Linked DNA regions of Homo sapiens: all the other regions are linked to region 2. Evidence: promoter capture Hi-C in 16 types of primary human blood cells and fetal thymus (Javierre and others, 2016). All regions are on one chromosome and are shown on one strand. The core of a region is centred on a gene start or on the middle of the fragment in contact, and the rest is flanking DNA. Distances in the headings are between cores, read along the strand shown. Region 1 holds the start of KLHL29 (kelch like family member 29). Region 2 holds the start of LDAH (lipid droplet associated hydrolase). Region 3 overlaps NT5C1B-RDH14 (NT5C1B-RDH14 readthrough).

The links. Contacts are between HindIII fragments. The CHiCAGO score rates a contact against its expected background, and 5 or more counts as called.
Region 1: the fragment with the promoter of KLHL29 here is called in contact with the fragment with the promoter of LDAH in region 2 in 1 of 17 cell types (M2 macrophages); the score reaches 5.5 in M2 macrophages.
Region 3: a contact is called between a fragment that was not itself captured here and the fragment with the promoter of LDAH in region 2, in 2 of 17 cell types (activated CD4 T cells and non-activated CD4 T cells). The highest score is 5.5, in activated CD4 T cells.

Annotation. Positions count from the first base shown.
Region 1 is chr2:23,383,374-23,388,194 of GRCh38, reverse strand. KLHL29 (kelch like family member 29) reads right to left here and starts at 3,016. Exons shown (of 14, transcript NM_052920.2): 1 at 2,415-3,016. It overlaps LINC02923 (long intergenic non-protein coding RNA 2923), which reads left to right and starts at 877. Exons shown (of 6, transcript NR_187213.1): 1 at 877-4,821. RefSeq lists silencers at 1,130-1,179, 1,350-1,519, 1,540-1,659, 1,900-2,759, 2,930-3,279 and 1 more and an enhancer at 4,783-4,821. The HindIII fragment of the contact is 11,520 bases long and covers 1-4,821 here.
Region 2 is chr2:20,821,576-20,826,431 of GRCh38, reverse strand. LDAH (lipid droplet associated hydrolase) reads left to right here and starts at 3,331. Exons shown (of 7, transcript NM_021925.4): 1 at 3,331-3,395. RefSeq lists enhancers at 3,148-3,537, 3,758-3,827, 3,630-4,455. The HindIII fragment of the contact is 14,255 bases long and covers 1-4,856 here.
Region 3 is chr2:18,551,431-18,555,847 of GRCh38, reverse strand. It overlaps NT5C1B-RDH14 (NT5C1B-RDH14 readthrough), which reads left to right. Exons shown (of 11, transcript NM_001199104.2): 11 at 40-1,125. The coding sequence ends at 64. It overlaps RDH14 (retinol dehydrogenase 14), which reads left to right. Exons shown (of 2, transcript NM_020905.4): 2 at 40-1,125. The coding sequence ends at 657. Among named protein-coding and RNA genes, the nearest start is that of RDH14, 7.0 kb to the left of the region's middle. The HindIII fragment of the contact is 3,937 bases long and covers 290-4,226 here.

The DNA.
Region 1 (4,821 bases), core at 1,767-4,266, 2.6 Mb before region 2:
CACTGAGTACTTGAAGTATGACCACCACTCATTAGAAACATAATTAAAAAGACACAACACTAGATCCCCACCCCCCATCACATTCAGATGAAAACCAATAACCCTTAATCTATTTGTTACCATGGCTACCATAGGATATTTTATTTCAGTAAAACTCTAGGTATTTCGTTTGGATTGCTGCTTGCAAATGAAAGTTGGAGACCTATAAATTTCCATAACCGAGAGACCGAGGAGAAGAAAATGTTTTTCTTAATCACAGGCAAATATGGTTTATAAGATGTTTGTGCAGAAAAGTTATTAAAATTGGTTAGATGCATCAGCCCATAAACCAATTTAAATGCCATTAAATTCATATAGAGTTTAAAAGGCACATGTGCTAGTAATTCCCTGATTTATAGCAGGGTGATAAATCAAGTGCACTCCAGCACAATGTATGGGACGGAGACTATTCATCAGTAGCACACAGCTCCATACCTGTATAAACACCTAGATTATGGACTAATCAAATACACGCATGCCAACCAGCCTTTAAAGTATTCACTAGTGCTTACTGGACATGTTTTCTCTAAGTGTCGGAAAGAACAATCTATAAAATTGTTCATTCTCCTCCCTCACAAAAAAATTAAAAAGCTCTATACCTTCTTTCCATAATAATAATAATAATAATAATAATAATAATAATAATAATAAATCAGGAATGAGGTGGGACAAGTCTGCTGTCATTCATCTGAAAATGAAGCAATTCCTCAAATCTGCCCTCCCAGGGCTGAGTTAGTGATAAGACCACACGGCGAGGAAGAAACTCTGTAGTGACTAGACAGATGACTTTAAAGAGACTGAAACTAGTATAAATACAGCCGTAACCAGGACAGATCTGTCATTGCAAGAGGAGTCCGAATCCCAGCGTTGCTGGACTGGAGAGAGGCTGGAACCTGCAGCAGCGGGCCGGGATGCCGCTGAGCTGCCGAAGTGGAAGTTTCGCAGGCAGCAGCAGCTCGGCGTCCTCCACGGTCTGGTCCCTCCAGCGCCGAGGTCTCGCCTAATGCTACATAAATACCTGCGTCCACGATTCGCCCGGGGCGCGCCGCGGCGCAAGCACGGGAGGGAGGGAGGAGAACGTTTGCAGAGCGGCGGGGATGGCAGCGGCGGCGGCGGCAGCTCCTTACCCATCAGCATCTCTGGGGGCCCGCGCGAGGGCCCGCCAACGGACCGCGTCTGCCGCTTGGTTCCACAGCCCAGGGACGACAACTGGCTTCTCAGCGGGTGGACCCAGGCATCCGAGACTCGCGCGTGGCCGCCACCCCCTCCTCCGAGACGGCTGGCCGCAGGCAGGCAGCGCGTCCCCGCCTTCCCCAGGCAACGCAGAGGCGACCTGCCCTAAGAGCCACCTCCGACCTACCCCGGCTCCCAGCCCCGCGCTCCGGCCCCAGGCGAGCACGTCCCTCCCTTGGGGCCCGGGGCCGACGCTGCCCAGCGCGGGCACCCGCGCGGCGACCGCAGATAACCCTAGCGCTCTCAGCCCGCTCCAGGCCACGGAGACCGGGACGCGAGCCCTGGGCTCCCCCGGCCCCCCGAGGCCATCGGGGCGCGCGTTCACACTCCCACACTACACATCTCCAGGTCCACCCTGTCCCACACATCAACAACCCCTCCCCAACGACACCACCTCCTGGCCGCTTCGCCGTCCCCGTGAGCTCTCCTTTCCGCGTCCCCCCACAACACGCTGGCACCCACAAGGTGTCAAGGGAAGTGTGCGTGTGTGTGTCGGGGTGGGGTGGGTCACAATAAGGTCTGTGCGGGTTCCCTCCCGACGGTTTTCGAGCTCATCTACCTCGAAAGTTACTTGGGATTGAGTAAAGAGACCCAGTCCCCAAATGCGAGATCAGAGGACGCGAGGGGCAGAAAACCCCAACCTGGCTTCTCGCTGCACAGAGGCGCGCACCTCCCCAAAGGACAGTGCGCGCGGCCGCCCCTGGGGGCCAGCCCTCCGTCGCCTCCAGGTCTCCTGCCCGGCCGGGGCCCTGGGCCGCTCAGGGGAACGTGGCCTGGAGAGGGGCGCGCGCCGCCGGGCCCAGCAGGGGGGCTGCTCCGGCCAGGGGTCACACAAGCCTCCAGCACCTCCGAACACCGTGACAGTGGCCCCAGGCAGCCCCGGTGCATACACACCCGGGGGCAGGAAGTTTTTTCCCCCCCTTTTTTTCCCCCTGGAGCAGCGCAGGCGCAAGGGCTCCTGCAGCCTGCGAGTCCAGACGCGGGAGGCTCCTGTCGCCGCCGCCGCCGCCGAAGCCGAGCCCAGGGTTCCGGGTTCCGGCCCCGCTCCCACGCCCGGCCCGGCCCGGCCCCACGCGGCGGCCAGGACCTGGGTCTCCCTCCGGCGCCGCATCCGAGGCGCTCCAGCCCGGCCCGGCTCTTACCTCCGGCGCGCGGCTCCGGCCCCGGCCCGACGCGCAGAGAGCCCGGGGTCGCGGGTGGGCGCAGGAGGGCTGATGGAGAGCGGACAGCGCCGGCGGGTAGCGGTGGCTGGGGCCGCTCGGGTCCTGGCCGGAGGAAACGGATCCAGGTCCTCCTCCTCGCGTTCCTGCTCTCCGCCTTCTCCCCTCGTTCCTCCTCCTCCTCCGCCGCCGCCGCCTCCCGGCAGCCCAGGGAGGATGCCCGGGAGAGGGAAGTCGGTCCTCCTGCCTGTCAGCCTGTGCGGCTATGAGCGGTGCGGCGCGGCTCTCATCGAGGCGGCGGCGGCGGCGGCGGCTCCGGCAGCATCGCCCCCGCCCTCTCCCCGCAGCCGCGGCGGCCGCGGGGCTGGGGCTGGCTCCGGGCTCGCGGCTCGGGCTCCGGGCGGGGGCTGCGCTCAAGCGCGGCGACCGCCGGGGCTGCGGACGGGCGCTGCGGAGCCGGGGCCGGGGCTGGAGCTGCGGCGAGATCCGCGGTGGCGGGGACGGCGGCGGCGGCGCGGGGGCTGGCGCGGCCGCGGCGCGGGGACCATGCTCCCTTCTGGCTCGCTCCGCTCCGGGTACCGTCTGCTTTAGCTGCGAGGGAGGCGGGCTTCGGCGCGCAGCCAGGGGCGGGCGGAGCCAATCACGGGCGCCCGAGTGGGCGGGGGTGGCGGGTGGGGGAGGCGGGGCCCTCTGGCCCGGCCCGGCCAGGCCGGGCCCCGTGCGCAGTTTCCCCGGCCCGAGGGATTCCCGGCTGCCGCGCGCCGGGTCCGAGGTTGGAGTGCTCGCGGGTGTGTCCGTCGGTCCGTCCGTCCGCCGCCCCCGCCCCCCGCGGTGGCCCCCGGCTCGCCTGGCTCCGCGGCCGCGCCCGGCAGACGCACGGCGCGTGGCACGGGCTGCTCCGCCGTGGCCTCCTGGCCTTGCTGGCCCAGGGTTGGGGGCCCGGGACTGAGGCGAGCTCCCCGTCTGCTCTCAACACCTGAGGAAACTGGCGGAAAAGTTTGAGAAGGAAAAAGTCCAATCGTCTTTCAGCTTCCGCCCTCTTTATGACACTCCAGCCTTGGAAAGGAGCAGGAATTGTCCACACCTCTGAAGGACCAGGGAGAGCCCTGCAAAGTGTCCACCAGCCTTCTGAGTCAGCCCTGCCTCTCCTGGGGCGCGCGACTTTTCTGTTCATACTGACCCTTAGGAATCCAGGAAGCCTTCTCTGTTTAACAGCCTGACCAGCCTTTGATGTCTATACCGACTACTCACCCCCACCACAGCTCGCTCTCTCTCACACTGTCTACACTGACTTCTCAGTCCCACCACCTCTCGGTCTACACATGCTGTCTACACAGACCCTAACTTCTAACCCTAATAGAAGAGATTTGGCCAGAGGCGTGTGGGACCCCCAATGAGGGCTTTTCCATTATGCTAGAATATTTCACTCTGGGCACAGTCTTCTCCACCCCGACCGCTCTCCTAATCTGGTTTTTATTCCCCGACCTCTCCCTCCTCCCCTACATCCCCTTTACCTGGTTTTGAGTTTCAGAGGAAATATCTGTACCTGCCCTCCTCCTCCACCCCTGTCTGAATGTAAAGGCCTGAGGGCCCAATCCTCATCCTCCACCCTCCCTCCGCTCCCCCGGGTAAAGGCCTGAGGCCTGAGGCCTTGCTAGAAATTGGAGTTGGGGTGCTGTAGGTAGTGTGGGGAGCTGGCTGTGGGGGCCCAGCTGGGAGGAGCTGGCCTGGGGAGGGCTTTGCCAGTCCTTGCCTCCATCTACCAGGGCCAAGGAGGACTGAGCCGGTAAATATTTTCTTCTCAGCTCCCCCCCTGTGATGTCTGATCCAGGCCTCTGCTCTCCTTGGCTGTAAACTCAGCGCACGGATTGTGTCTTCTTTAATATTTTGTAGGAAGCAGAGTACAGTGTCGTGGCTGATAAATAATAAATAATAATAATCTACTGAGGGTAGCAGGAGCACTGTCAGAAATGGAATGAGGACGCCGGGGAAATGGCCCACTAGTGTCAGAATAACTGCATTTCCTGGAAAAAACATCCAACAGAGTTTGTGTGTGTGAAGCCCGGGACTCAAGGGAGGGGACAGAGCGGAGCACTTCAGGGAGGAAGCCACCCTTCATGAGGACGACAGCCAGGAAAACTGGCGTGACCTTAAGAGAGGGTGACAGAGGTGCCGAAAAGGGGAGCAGGAGTGGGGGGGAGGGGGAGAAAAGCTCCCCAAGGGTCCTCAGACAACACCTGAAGGTGATCGATAGCTTTGGTTTGAGTACTATGTCCTTCAAATGGTATATGAAAAGTGATAGAAGAGTACTAGATAGCAAAATGGAAAAAAGAGGGATTTCTTGGGATTTCAAATTGATACACAGGTCAACCCAATGCAAAAAGAAGGA
Region 2 (4,856 bases), core at 2,082-4,581:
GGATCAATAGGTTAATGAATTAGATTAAGGGGTATCATGTGAGGGGAACTGGTGGCTTTCCAAGAAAAGAAAGAGAAACCTGAGCTAGCACACTCAGCCTCCTGGACAAGTGAGGCCCTGTGCTGCCTTAAGACTCTTCAGAGAGTCTTTCACCAGGTATAGCCCCTCGACCTGGGACTTCTCAGCCTCCATAACTGTAAGAAATAATTTTTTCTTTACAAATTAGCCAGTTTCTGGTATTCTACTATAAGCAACAGAAAATGGACTAGGACAAGACCTGAGCTGAGCCAATCAGAAATTCTTCCCCGGGTATTAGGAATTAAAATCGAAAGAGGGAGAAAAAAGAATCTCTGTGTGGCTGTCCCTCTGCATCAATCTGGACAGGCTGTGTGGCACTGTGGTAAGAAACAACAGCAACAACCTCCAAAGCCTTAAGCAACAAAGGTTTATTTCTTATCACAATATGTGTTGCTATGGTTTGGATATAGTTTGTCCCCAAAAAGACTCATGCTGAAATTTGGTCCCCAGTGTGGTGATGTTCAGAAGTGGGGCCTATGGGGAGGTGTTGGGGTCATGGGGTGGATCCCTCATGAAGAGATTGTTGCTGTTCTCGCCAAAGTCAGTTCTTGTTCTGAGACACAGCAGAGACCCCTCTTAAGGGCTTGCAGGGCACTCTCCACCAAAAGATGAAAATAAAAAAAAATCTTGACTTCCTTAAAGAAAATTCCAGACATCTAGCTAGTCCTAAAAACAAAAACAAAAACAAAACAAACTTAAAAGCAAGAAGATAATAAGAGCTTAAAACAATAGCCAAAAAATTAATGTCACGGGATATTGTATTTCCTATAAAAACTAAAGGTAACATCTTAACATATGTCCCAAGTTGTTTTTCAGAAACCCAGATCCCCACTAAATGGATCCACTGGCACACAGGCCTCAAATAAGGGAGAATTGAAGGCTAAACTCTGACTACTATTCTTTGTTCTAAATTTCTTCTTGAGGTGCTTAAAGGAGGCCATGCCCATGAGCCCAAGCTAATATCCTTTTCTGCTGATATCAAATTTTTAGAGAGTTTCACCTTCTTAACAAATCACAAATCAGAAAATCCTTAAATTCCACCTATGACCTGTGGGCCCCCCTCTTTGAGATGCCCCGCCAATGCACGGCAGGCAAGCCCCAAATTGGGGATTTGCCCAGTAGAGTTCTTAGCTTCGCCAAGAAAGAATTCAAGGGTGAGCCGGTGGTGTTAAATAGCAACTTTTACTGAAGTAGTAGTGTCCAGAAGCAGCAGAGATACTGCTCCTTGCAGAGCAGGGCTACCCCATAGGCAGTGTGTCCAGAGTAGCATCTGAAAGGCAGTTCTTCTGTCATATTTATAATCATTTTTAATTACAGGCAAATTAAGGGGTGAATTATGCAGAAATTTCTAGGAAAAGGGTGGTAACCTCTGGGTTGTCAGGTTGTTGCCATGGAAAGGGGCATTAATATGGAAAGCTGCTTCCTCCCTGCCCCTGTTTTAGCTAGTCCTCAATTTGGTCTGGTGTCCAATTCCTGCATCCTACCTCACTGCATTTTTAGGTTAAGCCAATATATAACCTCCATATATTGATTTATGACTTTGCCTATAACCTCTGACACCCCTGCATTTAAAAACCCTTACCTATAAACAATTAGGGAGTTCAAGACTTAAGCACTAACTGACCAGTTCTCCTTGCTTGGGACCCTACAATAAATGCCTCACTTTCTTTCACTATAATCCTGATGTCAGTGTTTGGTCTTGCTGCACAGGCAATTGGACTCCAGTTTGGTTTGATAACAGCTCTTGAGAGATTGGAAAAGAGAGAGTCCCTGAGAGAGTGGGTTGTTTTCCACCTCCTGTTTGGTCTGTTTTCACATGTATCAGCTTCCCCTTTGACCTTCTACCATGTTGTGACACTGCACAAAAAACTCTAACCAGAACTGAGCAGATGCTCACACTATGCCCCTTGAGCTTTCCAATGTGCAGAACCATGAGCTAAGTAAACCTCTTTTTTAAATCCAAGCATACTTTGAAGATATTGGGGGTTCAGTTCCATACTACCACAATAAAGCAAACATCACAATAAGGCAGTTCACAGAATTTTTTTGGTTTCCCAGTGCATATAAAATTTATATTTACACTGTACTGTAGATTATTGTGTACAACAGTATTATGTCTAAAAAAAGTACATACTAAGAAAAGAAAAATAGCCCAGAGCTGTCTGAGCTATGTGAGGTATGCAAAATTTATTAGACCCGGACAGAAGTGAATACTGGCTTCCGCCACGCCTTCCCATGCCTTAGGGCAATTGTTAAAGGCATTTTGTTCTTTATTAGCTGCCTCACCCATTATCTTTATGTTCCTGGAATTTGTGATACAAGGAAGAAAGCATAGCCAGTCAATAGCTTAAGTTTTTTAAATATAAATTCTTGGTAAACAAGTTAAGCTCTGCCTCCTCTCCTTTCCTTAAAAACCGGCTCACGCCTGTAATCCCAGCACTTTGGGAGGCCGAGGCGGGTGGATCATGAGGTCAGGAGATCGAGACCATCCTGGCTAACAAGGTGAAACCCCGTCTCTACTAAAAATACAAAAAATTAGCCGGGCGCGGTGGCGGGCGCCTGTAGTCCCAGCTACTCGGGAGGCTGAGGCAGGAGAATGGCGTGAACCCGGGAAGCGGAGCTTTCAGTGAGCCGAGATTGCGCCACTGCGGTCCGCAGTCCGGCCTGGGCGACAGAGCAAGACTCCGTCTCAAAAAAAAAAAAAAAAAAAAAAAAAAACCTACTCCGACTGCTGCTAATTGGAGTGTATATTCAAGGCAACTTGAATCTAAGCTCCTGAGTGGCCATTCTCAAGCACTGAGCCCAAATAAACTCTATACTTAATATTATTCTCTGAATTTTCTTAAAGTTGGCAACACCTTAATTAAAAAAATACTTTATTGATCATGCTTATGAACATGATCAAATGAGAATCAACTTTCCTGTGTATGTGGGGAAGATATGCAACTAGTAACGCAGAAAGAGGGAAATGGGAAGAGGGAGAAAAGAGGGGCAGACATGGAACAAATGAGAGAGAAGGAAAGGGAAGCCAGAAGCCAGAAGCACATCAAGGATGACAGAAAATAAAAGGCGGATAAAATTCAAATGAAAAAGAAAGGAAAACCCCGACACCCTCCAAGAGGTCTCTCTGATCTGGACCACCGGCTCCAAGCCAGTAAGAAATCTCCCAGCCAGCTGTGCGCCGCGCGCCAGGCTGACATCGGCTTCCCGGATCAGCTCCGGCGCGGTACTGTGACGTCACCTGAGGGGGGCACTTCCGGTCTCGTGCCGCCTTCCCAGGACCCTCAGGGAGAGCGGGCAGCCTTCCAGGTGGACAGGTGAGGTACAGCTTGCCGAGCTCAGGGTGACTGCCCAAAGGAAGGACGGGTGGGCAGGCACGCGGGATCTGGCGCCCCTTCTTCTCTATGGTTCCTCGCAGAGCCCCTGTTGCCCTGGGCCAGATGGCCCGTAGCAGCAAAAATAATACTGTTCCGACAGCTCGCGAGTTCGGAGCCACTTGGCCTGGGAGTCCCTTGAGTTGCAGGCCGGGCAGTCGCTCACCCGAGCGCGGTAATGCAGCATTTGAACCCCTAAGTGTAGCCCACCTGTAGGGAGTCTTATGGTGCCCCCGCGGAGGAGTAGAGGCCAAAAAGTTGGGCAGCTGGCCGGGAAGAACTCGCTAGGAGGGGTCAAACTCTGGGCCGGGAGTGTTCTTTGCCCCCGGCGTTTAGTGCTCACGCCGCCTTTTATTCACGCTGAAGACCTTAACCGTAAACCCTCATCCTTGGGTCTTAGTTTGGTTTTGTTCCCCACGCAAGACAGAATGCAGATTGGAACACTTTATTCCTTGGTTAATTCGTATCTTCCCTCGCAAGTAGTTACCGGACACCTGCTTTGTGTCCTGTGTACCAAACACAAGAGTTGATAGTCCTGGCCGGGCGCCGTGGCTCACGCCTGTAATCCCAGCACTTTGGGACCCCGAGGCGGGCGGATCAGGAGGTCAGGAGATCGAGACCATCCTGGCTAACACGGTGAAACCCCATCTTTACTAAAAATACAAAAATAAATACATAAATAAATAAATTAGCCGGGCGTGGTGGCGGGCGCCTGTAGTCCCAGCTACTCGGGAGACTGAAGCAGGAGAATGGCGTGAACCCGGGAGGTGGAGCTTGCAGTGAGCCGAGATGGCGCCACTGCACTCTAGCCTGGGCGACAAAGTGAGACTCAGTCTCAAAAAAAAAAAAAGAGTTGATAGTCCTTGAGTTGAAAGAACAAATCTGTATGGAGAAAGAGATACAACCAAAAGAAACCCAGAAGATTTAGAAGCATCTCCAGAATGTTTATTCTCAAAAGCTGTTTTTTAATTAAACTTCTTTCTGAAACTATACGTAGGAGTGTCTCTTGTGTGTTTCCCCATTTTTCCACCTGAAGGTTAAAGACTTAGAAACCTGCTAAGGCCCCTCTTTCCAGCATGTAGCATTCTAGGGGGATAATCAGGGCAACACAGTGGGTGCCCATCTAAAATTTTATATTTTAATATTTTGCTTTTTGATAACTTAATGCCTTCAGACTGGAGGATTTTTTCTTTCTTTTTTTTAATTTTTTTAAAATTATACTTTAAGTTCTAGGGTACATATGCACAACGTGCAGGTTTGTTACATATGTATACATGTGCCATGTTGGTGTGCTGCACCCATTAACTTGTCATTTACATTAGGTATATCTCCTAATGCTATCCCTCCCCACTCACCCCACCCCACAACAGGCCCCGGTGTGTGATCTCCCCCTTCCTGTGTCCA
Region 3 (4,417 bases), core at 1,009-3,508, 2.3 Mb after region 2:
TTCTTAATAATTCTGCCATTCTCTTTTTGACATTTAAAGGAAGAGCCTAGGCTGGATGTCTTGATCAATAACGCAGGGATCTTCCAGTGCCCTTACATGAAGACTGAAGATGGGTTTGAGATGCAGTTCGGAGTGAACCATCTGGGGCACTTTCTACTCACCAATCTTCTCCTTGGACTCCTCAAAAGTTCAGCTCCCAGCAGGATTGTGGTAGTTTCTTCCAAACTTTATAAATACGGAGACATCAATTTTGATGACTTGAACAGTGAACAAAGCTATAATAAAAGCTTTTGTTATAGCCGGAGCAAACTGGCTAACATTCTTTTTACCAGGGAACTAGCCCGCCGCTTAGAAGGCACAAATGTCACCGTCAATGTGTTGCATCCTGGTATTGTACGGACAAATCTGGGGAGGCACATACACATTCCACTGTTGGTCAAACCACTCTTCAATTTGGTGTCATGGGCTTTTTTCAAAACTCCAGTAGAAGGTGCCCAGACTTCCATTTATTTGGCCTCTTCACCTGAGGTAGAAGGAGTGTCAGGAAGATACTTTGGGGATTGTAAAGAGGAAGAACTGTTGCCCAAAGCTATGGATGAATCTGTTGCAAGAAAACTCTGGGATATCAGTGAAGTGATGGTTGGCCTGCTAAAATAGGAACAAGGAGTAAAAGAGCTGTTTATAAAACTGCATATCAGTTATATCTGTGATCAGGAATGGTGTGGATTGAGAACTTGTTACTTGAAGAAAAAGAATTTTGATATTGGAATAGCCTGCTAAGAGGTACATGTGGGTATTTTGGAGTTACTGAAAAATTATTTTTGGGATAAGAGAATTTCAGCAAAGATGTTTTAAATATATATAGTAAGTATAATGAATAATAAGTACAATGAAAAATACAATTATATTGTAAAATTATAACTGGGCAAGCATGGATGACATATTAATATTTGTCAGAATTAAGTGACTCAAAGTGCTATCGAGAGGTTTTTCAAGTATCTTTGAGTTTCATGGCCAAAGTGTTAACTAGTTTTACTACAATGTTTGGTGTTTGTGTGGAAATTATCTGCCTGGTGTGTGCACACAAGTCTTACTTGGAATAAATTTACTGGTACAAATTCTTAACTGTGCATTTCTTTGGAGGCTTCACTGAATACAGTCCTTTATCATGTCACCATTAGCCTATGCTGATCTTGGTCTGCCCAGTCTCTTCTTGCCACGTATCTTGTACACTGCTCTGAGAGATAATATTCCTAAAACCCAAATCTATCACATTCCTGCTTAAAAAACAGTGGGTTTTGAGCCTTAAAAAAAAAAAAATTTGGCAGAATTCTTTCTTCAAAAGCGGTGTTTCACTGAAACGTAGAAGCTGGAGGGGGTAAAGCAGGTTATCGCAATGCTGCCAAGGTGGAGTCCCCCACGGCAATTCCTAAAGGGATTTCATAGAATATAGTGGTTTATAAACCACTTTTATTTAGACTAAAGATTAAACTGTTGAAGATAGAGTTGAGGCTCCATGAGACAGCACCATGCTTACCCTATACTCTCATACTCAGCACTGTTCAGTAGAACTTTGCAGTGAGGAAAGGAATACTCTGTGTTGTCTGATGTGATGGACTCTAGAAACATGGGATTATTAAGTACTTCAAATTCAACTGAGAACTGAATTTCTAATTATATGTAATGTTAATTTAAATAGGCACATGTCTAGCAACTGGTATCTTGGACAGTACATCTCTGGTCATCCCATCAGATAATCCAGTCCTGATTTTAGAACAGTCACCTACTCACTTGCTTTGGGCCTTTCTTTATATTGTTCTTTCAGTCTGGAATGCCATCTCCTTTTTCCTTGGAAATACGACTTACCCTTCAGGTTCCTTTCAAATGTGTTCCTTTCTCCAGCCCCCGTAGGCAGAGACAATTCTCTCTTCCTACTTTTTTTTTCCCCCTTGATCTTGGTACTTTTACTAGGAGTTTAGTGCACTAATTATTCATTCACAGGTTCAGTCAGATAATCAGAATAGAAATTCTCTAAGGAAAGGAGATTTATTTTATTATTAGCTTTCCTCCATCAAGAATCAAGTATAGTGCCCAGCACACAGTAAAAAATCAGTAAATAATGGTATGCATAAGAATAATTGAGCCCAAATAGGAATATTGCAGGCATCTGTGTTACAACATCAAAAGTATCTACTTAATTTTAATTATTTGTTTCACTATCTCATATCGGAAAAAGGAATTATAACACTAAAGTATAGACAGTTACACTGAATTTAATGACTATTTAGCCCAGGGATAATTCTTGGTTATTATTTTTAAGACCATTTATAATATCAGCTTATGAGTATCGGTTATTTTCAAGAATGGCAGGATCTTGGCATATCATGCAGAAGGTCTGTTTTCTGTTAGAGCATTGCCTTGTGAATTGGAGAAACAGTGTATCATCACAGGTGTGTCTCTGCAGGTGTAGTGGATATAGCTGCATCATATTCTTTGAAACATTGTATTTTTAAAAAGTAATCCTACAAAGAGACCTGCTGAACTTAGAAATATAGGCAGGAAATACACCAGAATGCAACTTGGAAAAATGGAAGCTAATAAATCTGTCCTACACCTCGACTTCATTAAAAGGGAGCCCCTTTTTTTCATTTAATACCATCTTTTCTGGCTGCATTTTGATACTTGATGCTTTTCAGGGGATTTGGACCTTTTGTAAGAGTTGAGCCTTTCAGAGTTCTTTTGTTTGTGGCACCATAATAAAATAGGATATATTAACTTATCATGATAGAAAGCTAGAAACTTACCTGGAAACACCAACTATTAAGGTAAAATGAGCTGCCATTTGGAAGATGTCCTTCGCACCACTGTGTTTGATGGAATTGAGGACTAAGAGCTCCAAAATGATGAGGTAGATTTTGAAGAAGTCCTTAACTTCCCCTCCTTCTTTCTCCCTTTTGCTGACTCACTTTAATCCATTTTACTGGGCAAAGAAATAAGTAAAAGGCAGTCCTGTTATTTTGGTATTGTTCTCACCCTCAGCAGTATATCAGAGGGGAAACTGTAATGTGCCAGATCATGGAAGAAATGAGTTGAAAGCCCATTTTCCATGCTGGTTCTCAGCTTCATTTTTTTTGAAAAATTGACTCGTGTTTCAAGCAGCTTATTCTGAGAAGGGTTGAGGTTGCTGGCCTTCTGTTTCAACTTTGCTCAGAGTAACTATTTTATATAGTGGGGTTCTAAGTAGGATTTAATTGGACAAGGGGCTTCACAGCTTAAACACACCACCACATTGGGTTTGACTAACAGCTCTACTGTGTAATGCTTCCTGTAACCTTGGCAAGTTACTTAACCTTTCCGAGCTATTATTTTTTTTGGCTCTATATTGAAATATAAGTGTCTACTTTAAAGGATTACTCAGTGAATGAAAGAGACAGACTAGGTAAAATGTTTAGCAAAGTGTCTGGCACATACAGGCACACATCCATTTCTCCTTCCACAATGCACATAATCATTACTATCCATTAGCAGTAATAGTAATTAGCGATGCTAATGGTTAGGCAAGTACATATCATGGAAACAAAACTCTAAACCAAGGGGCAGCAAACTTCATCTAAAAGGCCAGATTTCTTTTTATAATCTTTCAAAAATGTAAAGACCATTTGTAGCCAGTACATACCATACTATTGTACTTAAATGACTGGTACAGTCTTCCAGGCCCAATGTACTCACTTACTTGTTTACCTTTAAGACACCTTGTTTGAGAGTAGTTGTCGTATATGCTGTGACTCCTATTACTCTATAAGGCTGCTGTTGTTTTTCCATATTATTTCTAATGTTGTGGACAACTATTTGCTTGCAGACCAGGAAGCCTAAAGGGTATATTTTAAAAGTCTGTCTCCAGCTATAGATTCTGGTGTGAGGAAGAGCAGTTATCTGCCTTCAACTCCCTCCCCCTGACAAACTTGCTGGGCCTGGCCAGAGATCTGAGGGACTCTGTATTTGAATATTTAATTGATTCCAAATGTCCTATGGAACACTGAAGAGAGAACATGTTACTAATCACCCTTCAGGAGCTTGGCCCCCACAGACAGGTTCAGATGTTCCACAAGCCTTCTCTGGGCGATGGGGAGTTAAATTAGTTACAGGCTAACATGGAGAAAGGTAGTTTATTCCTAGAGGAAACTAAGACGGAATGCTTAGTTTTATGCAGACAGTAAGGAAAAGCTTTTGCTAAGCCAGATGTGTAATCAAAGTGCAGTGGAAGCACTTTTAAGCAACTACCATCTAAGAGATTTGCTGTAATAACTGATTCTCCATTCTTTTTTTCTAAAAAAAAAAAAAAAAACTAATGCACATAGCATGTGAAACTCTAGGCTGATAGGCTTTCTTCTAGCACACAACAGCCCTTCTGCTTCCT